Linked DNA regions of Homo sapiens: region 2 is linked to region 1. The links are contacts of gene promoters, found by promoter capture Hi-C in blood cells and fetal thymus (Javierre and others, 2016). All regions are on one chromosome and are shown on one strand. The core of a region is centred on a gene start or on the middle of the fragment in contact, and the rest is flanking DNA. Distances in the headings are between cores, read along the strand shown.

Region 1 (3,641 bases), core at 414-2,913:
GATGGGTGGATGGCTTGAGGTCAGGAGTTTGAGACCAGCCTGGCCAACATGGCAAAGCTCTGTCTCTACTAAAAATACAAAAAAATACCTGGGCGTGGTGGTGCATGCCTGTGGTCCCAGCTACTTGGGAGGCTGAGGTGGGAGGATCACTTGAACCTGGGAGGCAGAGGTTGCAATGAGTCGAGATTACACCACTGCACAGAGCCAGACCCTGTCTTAAAATAATAATAATAAAGTTCTGGGATAATGGTTGCACAAAAATGTGAATGTACTTAATGCCACTGAACTGTACACCTAAAAATGATAAAGATGATAAACTTCATATTATGTGTATTTTACAATTAAAAACAAGAAGATGAGCATGGGCCAGCTCATCAGGAGTCTTTTATGCAATGCCTGAGACATCATCTTAAAGACTGGATAGCATCAGGAAAGATTCTGAAGGAGACTCAGGGGTTAAAAGAGAATTCCCTATATCTCAGGACAATGCAGACAGTAGGACAATTGAGAGAGTAAGAATAGAGTTTTGCACAAAACAGGCACTCAATGAATACTGGTGGAATAAAATATCCTCCACTACTACCAATTTATCTTAGGAGAGAAAAGCAAGAACTGTTTTCCAAGACAACGCTGAAACGAATGCGCCCAATCTTTGAGGACTCCGCCTTTGCCCAACAGCTCCTCATTTCTGCTGTGGGCATACGGAGGGCGCTCATTCTCGGGGACAGTTCCCAAGGTACCCCCGCCTTCCATGGCCACACCCCACCACGCCCTGTCCAATTTGCCACCAAATCCCTATCCCTGCTCCAAAAGGCAATCAAATCTCCACCTCCAGTCACTAGGTGGATGACTTAGTGCCACCACTAAATTCTCTTGAGCCAGACTCCTCCGGGAGGTAAAGGAGGGTGGGATGATAATACTCGCCTCTCCCAGCAGCCGTGAGACAGAGGTAATGTACTCACTACCTGGCAGAAAGAGAGTGTTCCCCAACCTGGTTGCTCCCTTGGATACTGAAGGCATCACGCTGTACTGAGATTCTCTCTACACCTGTCTCCCACCCTACCCACCCCAAGAATGTGGGCTCCTGGACGCGAGGATCCATCTCTCCGGGACCTGGAACAGCTGACTTCGCCCGCCAGGCCTCTGGGAAACCCTGGCCGAGGGCTGCTCGAATGCCTCTAGGAACCAGGATTAACGGAAACGAGGCTGACAGCGGGGCACTAGGAACTCCCAGTGTGAGGTTCGCCGCCGCCACCCACAGCCAGAAGAGTCCAGGGTTGCCCGGTGTTTCTCCCAACCCCCTAGAACCCAGAAAGTCTGATTTTGGGGTAAAGCGTCGTACCTTTTAGACGCTAACAACTATCTCAAAAAAGCTTACGGACCAACCAAGACGCTACTACGGCCTTCAGTCGCCCAGTTGAGACCCCTGTACCTACGCCAGACCCGCCGGGGGACTGGGGCGGCATCCCCACCGGCCCTTGGGAGGCCAGGCAGCCACTTACGAAGGATGAGAAGGACGGGAGGAGGATCCTAAGAACATTGCATCCAAACACGAAGCTGAGCACCAGCAACCACGCCCAGTGGTCGGCCGCGGCTGAGCTCATCCCGGACGCTCCTGGCTGTGCTGGGTCCGCTACGGCAGCTCCATGGGGACCACAACAACAGCGGCGACCGCGCCTGCGCGGTGAAGCCAAGCGCCCCAGAACAGGCGCGCCGACGCGCCTGCGAACTGCGTCGCCCTCGCGGGAGGCGGGGCCGTTTTTTCGTCCGGCTCCAGTTGGAGCGGTTAACACGTTCCGGGTTTCTCCTGGGCCTTCGGCGGTTCCGTAGCCTTCTAGCACCCATCCCTACTGAACCAGTTTTCTGACGTCCGTGTTTCTTTTTTTCCTTCTTTTTAAAATTAAAAACCTTCTCATAGTACCAAACTCTGGTTTCAAGTGCTAACGACTCCCTGCTTTTGTCATAATTAGTACTTTCTTTAAATTAACTTTTAATTCTAGATAAGTTTAAGAAAAACTCTTCCATAAATAGAAAACTACCGTTTTTATAGTAGCAGGTAACTGTCGTGTTCCAAGCAGTTACATGGAAAATGCCTTACGTTTTCGTTCCAGATCTAAACACTGTAGTAAGTCTAACCAATTTACACAACTGCATACCTGAAAAATAAGTTTAATAGAATGCACTGTTCACAATCATTAGTAATAGTTAATAAATTAACCTGAATCTAGGTGAAGATCAGGTTTTGCAGCGAAAGAATCCCAACTCAAATGTATGCAAAGTGAGCAGGGCGAGGTGGCTCACGCCTGTAATCCCAGCACTTTGAGAGGCCGAGGCGGGCAGGTCATGAGGTCAAGAGATTGAAACCAGCCTGGCCAACATGGTGAAACCCCGTCTCTACGATACAAAAATTAGCCGGGCGTGGTGGCGCGCGCCTGTAGTCCCAGCTACTCCGGAGGCTGAGGCAGGAGAATCGCTTGAACCCGGAAGACGGAGGTTGCAGTTAGCCAAGATCGCGCCACTGCACTCCAGCTCTGGCGACAGAGCGAGACTCCGTCTCAAAAAAAAAAAAAAGTATGCCTAGTGGATAAAGCAAGACATGTTCAACTGTCTCTTCTGCCATGCTGCCATGACTGGTTTCTGAGGACTAATTCCTAATCAAAATGATGCAAGATTGCGGGTACACTGGCTCACGCCTGTAATCCCAGCACTTTGGGAGATCCAAGCAAGGTGGATCACAGGCCCAGGAGTTTGAAACCAGTCTGGGTAACATAGTGAGATCCCCATCTCTACAATAAAATATAAAAATTAGCCGGGCACTGTGGCACGTGCCTGTGGCCTCAGCTACTAGGGAGGCTGAGATGAGAGGATCGCCTGAGCCTGGGAGGTCGAGGCTGCAGTGAGCTGTGATCACACCACTGGACTCCAGCCTGGGCGACAGAGCACAACTCTGGCTCATTATTATGAACCAGTTAAAATAATTATGCGGCTGGGCACAGTGGCTCAAGCCTGTAATCCCAGCACTCTGGGAAGCCGAGGCAGGTGGACCACCTAAGGTCAGGAGTTCGAGACCAGCCTGACCAACATGGCAAAACCCTGTCTCTATTAAAAATACAAAAATTAGCTGGGTGTGGTGGCGGGCACCTGTAGTCCCAGCTACTCAGGAGGCAGAAGAAGGAGAATCGCTTGAACCTGGGAGGCGGAGGTTGCAGTGAGTTGAGATCGCACCATTGCACTCCAGCCTGGGTGACAAGAGTGAAACTCTGTCAAGAAAGAAAGAAAGAGAGAAAGAGAAAGAGAAAAAGAAAGAAAGAAAGAAAGAAAGAGAGAGAGAGAGACAGAAAGAAAGAAAGAAAGAAAGAAAGAAAGAAAGAAAGAAAGAAAGAAAGAAAGAAAGAAAGAAAGAAAGGGAAAGGAAAGGAAAGAAAGAGAGAAAGAAAGAGAAAAAGAAAAAGAAAAGAAAAGAAAGAGGCTGTGGTTCTACAAATTTCTGTGTCAAGAAAACATGTGAAGCAAAACTATTCTGTAGTGGTAGAGTGAATTCCTTCCCTGAAAGGACTTATTGGTTAAGTGACTTCTGAACTGACCAAAACAAAGAGCAGGAGTCTGGCTCTCCTCCATAGCCTTCCCTTCCACCTGGATGG
Region 2 (3,641 bases), core at 359-2,858, 2.3 Mb after region 1:
CGCAAATTTCTTGCAACAAAAAATGTCCTAACTAGAGTCGTAGTTATAAGGAAAAGGCTCTCTCCGGAGGAGTAAAATCTGTAAAATTTCTACCTTGTTTCCCTCGCCAGGATCTTGGGCAAAATGGAAAGAGATTTAGGTGAATGCCATAAAATACTCTATAAACCATTAAATATCATCAAGAACGCCTAAGGACCGCATCGCCCAGTAGGAGAGTGCATATATTTTGAAAGGTCTCTGCAACTGAGGGGGTTTTGGCGTCCAGGGCGCCACTGGAAAAGGCACGGCGCACTGGTACCAGCCCAAATTCACCTACGTCTCGGCTTCATTTTTTATCTTTGATCCCCCTATTCTGTCTCCTGAACAGGCTGGCTGAAGAGGCCACACTGGCAGCGTCAACACTGCGGAGCAGCTGGCCAGACTCGATCCTGTCCACCCCCCTTCCCATTAGCGTCTGTGGGAGAGAATGCTCAGAAAGAGGCGCGGGGGCGAGGGGAGCGGCGAGGTTACCCCCCTCCTGGGTCCGTTCCGTGGGGACAGGCCCTGGACTGGACTGCCAGTTCACACGAAAACAGGTGGCAACAGAGTCGTGACACGCACACACAGCAAGGGGTGTGCACGAACGTTCACGCTCACCAACGAAACCTGCACACAAGAGATACCCACTCGACAGAATTAAATCCGCACACAAGAGATCACGCACTCAACAGGACCCATGCGCAGACACTCTGCGTCACTCGGAGACACGCAAGGACGCACACTTGCGCGAGCAAGGCTCTAGGCGGGGGTCGCAATTGCAGAAGGCGCGGCCACGCGCGCTAGGGGACGCGCAGCCCACAGACAGGGGCAGTAACACAAAGGGGGGCCACCTGCAAGGCCGAGAGCGCCCACGCAGCCGCCAGGGAGCGCGGACACCGACACAAAAGGGGCGACGAGGCGACACGCGAGCGCCTCCACCCAGCGGAGGTGTCAGCCACGCACCGGCCGAGGCACGGGCAGCGGGGGGTTGCGCACAAAGGGACTACTCACACCCTCGCACCGGCATCCCAGGGCCTCGCTCGCGAAGGGGCACCAGACCAAGGGGGCAAACCCACTGGGGTAGGCAATGGCGGCCACACCCCCTCATCGCGCGGGACCCAACCCATGCAGACACAGTAGGCACCTCAGCGAGGGACGCGAGGAGACGCGCACACACCCACACTCACCACACACCCACGGAGGGGGTGTGGAAGGCCCCGCTCCCCCGGCATCTCGGCTGCAGCGGGACAAGGTGACACATCCGGGAGCCCGGCAGCGCGCCGGGTGTGCACTCACCCGGGCCCGCCGCCCGCGAGCCTCGGACGCGGGCAGCAGCAGCAGCAGCCGCCGCCGCCGCCGCCGCCACCTCCGGCCCTCCACGTCAGCCGACGGCGGGAGGGAGCGGGTGGCGGCGTTGAAGCGAGGTGCGTCACGTGGGCTGGCAGCGCGCGTGCGCAGTCGCACCCCACCGCCCCCTCCTTCGCCGTCGCGAGCCGCGGGATCACGCCCGCCCCCGCGCTCGCTGGCTCCCACCCGGGGAGGGTCGTTGTGCGCCTGCGCCAGGGTGGGGGTTGCCGTCGCGCCTAGGCCTTTCCCTCAGGTTTTCCTCTTCCCCACTGCGGCTCCCCAGTCGGCGCTTGCGCGGAGAACTCAGCGCTGAGGTGGCCGAGGTGTCGGGAGGGGCCTGGGTGGGCGTATGAAGGACCCGAGGTCGAGGGCCCCCCCATACCCCGCCTCGAATGAGAAATAGAAGTCTCCACGAATGGGCAGGGCCCGGGGCCTGGGCGCCGCGACCTAGTAGGCCCGCATGCTGGTGGGCGCCGCGCGAGCCTTGTTCCCTGCCCTCCCCTCCCACAGGGAGGCCACGCTTGCAGAGCTGGAGCGCGCGTCTATCGCCCCAGAACCCCCCTCCCTGCCCTATCCTCCGCCACCCCTTCTGTTGCGGGGCGCGCGCCAGCCTGGGTGTCTGTATGCGCTCGAGGCGGGGGCGCGGGTTGCGGACGGAGGCGCGGGAGGCGGTTCTGCGCGGCGGGGGCCGTACCCGCGGCGGAGCGAGGAGGCGAGAATGGATCAATGGTGCCACGGAGCACATCGCTGACGCTGATTGTGTTCCTTTTCCACAGATTGTCTAAAGCCCCAGGAAAAATGGTGGAAAATTCACCGTCGCCATTGCCAGAAAGAGCGATTTATGGCTTTGTTCTTTTCTTAAGCTCCCAATTTGGCTTCAGTAAGTACTTTCCTGATGGATGGCCAGGGGCTTTTTCTGGCGTTCAGTGACAAGGGAAGAATACATTGGTTAGACTGTGCACACATGAACTGTTGATTCTTTCTCCCTATGTCTCTTTTTAAGAAAATCTGAAGGGATCTCGTGTTTGCTGAGTGTTCCGTGTGCCAGCACTAGCCTAGGAGGTTTTAGTCTCTACAAATATTTATACAGCACCAGACGCGATGGCAAAGTGGATAAAGCCTGGTCCCTGCCCTTAAGGAGGTCGTGGTCTTGTGGAGGAGACAGATGGGTAAATCTACAGTTAATGCTCAGTGTGATGAGTGTCAGGGAGCACGGTGGAGAGACATTGAAACCAGACTGGAAAGTCAAGGCTTTCTACAGAGGCCTTTCCCCCTGGCACTGATGCTGATTAGGAAAGAGTAAGAGGGAGGGAAGAAGTGGAAAGGCCTTGAATGAGGGCGTGAGAGGGTTTGGACCCGAGGAGCTTGTGATGTCACCAGTGTGCCCTGCGGGATCTGGGGAACAGGAGAAGTAGGCCAGAGAAGTCGGGTTGAAAGGTGTGTCGTTTGCGTCCTGGATCTCCCTTAATTTAACCCCATAACATTCCATTTTACAGATAAGGAGACTGATGCTCACTAAGACACTAATATGCCCACTCACACAGCAAGTCCCAAGTCTCTCCCCAAAATGATTTGAGAATTTTGAGGCACACAAAAGGGAGAAAATTGAGTGCCCGTGATCCAACGTTCTGCAACTGTTTGGAAACCAGGAAAGTGGAGGAGTGGTAGTACTTCTGAACCCTAACTAAAATATATCAGCCTGCACCATCAGCACAGCTTGCAGATGAATGTAATGGCCAGGCTATTAAAACTGAAGTGAAGTGAAGAAGTTACAACTGAGTTCGAATTCTGACTCCTCCACAGATTAGCCATGTGAGCTGGGACCCTCAGCAAATTTTTTGAGCCTCAGGTTCCTTATCTGTAAAAGGGTAGTGATAATGATGGTTATTAAATGCTTATGACGCATGAAACAGTTCTATGGGGTAGGTTCTGTTATTACTGTCCTTTAAAGATGAGCATCCTGTGGTTTCAGTAACTTGCTCAAGATTGCAAAGCTACTAAATAAAAGCCTTCTAAATTTGAACCCAAATACACTGGCTGACTTCACTCTGCTGCCTCTTCTGACTGTTGTGAGGATTAACGGGGGTAATTTATGTAAAGCACGTAAAATAATGCCTAGGAACAGTTAGGGACTTAATAAGTGTTAGCTACTGATGTTATTGTTAGCACTTTTGTAAATCCTTGTTCAAAGAGTATGTCAAGGATTAGAAGCTATATGAATAAATAAAAGCAATCACTTTAAGGCTTAAATTCTGGCCGGCCTGGTGGCTCACGCC

The links. Contacts are between HindIII fragments. The CHiCAGO score rates a contact against its expected background, and 5 or more counts as called.
Region 2: a contact is called between the fragment with the promoter of PIGP here and the fragment with the promoter of GET1 in region 1, in 1 of 17 cell types (monocytes). The highest score is 5.8, in monocytes.

The regions. Positions count from the first base shown.
Region 1 is chr21:39,378,348-39,381,988 of GRCh38, reverse strand. It overlaps GET1 (guided entry of tail-anchored proteins factor 1), which reads right to left and starts at 1,663. Exons shown (of 5, transcript NM_004627.6): 1 at 1,503-1,663. The coding sequence starts at 1,604. GET1-SH3BGR (GET1-SH3BGR readthrough) reads right to left here and starts at 1,663. Exons shown (of 14, transcript NR_146618.2): 1 at 1,503-1,663. The HindIII fragment of the contact is 3,691 bases long and covers 1,376-3,641 here.
Region 2 is chr21:37,071,038-37,074,678 of GRCh38, reverse strand. PIGP (phosphatidylinositol glycan anchor biosynthesis class P) reads left to right here and starts at 1,608. Exons shown (of 5, transcript NM_153682.3): 1 at 1,608-1,679; 2 at 2,142-2,245. The coding sequence starts at 2,164. It overlaps TTC3 (tetratricopeptide repeat domain 3), which reads right to left and starts at 1,425. Exons shown (of 46, transcript NM_001330683.2): 1 at 1,206-1,425. RefSeq lists silencers at 1,018-1,077, 1,298-1,617, 1,858-2,137 and an enhancer at 1,416-1,710. The HindIII fragment of the contact is 9,103 bases long and covers 1-3,641 here.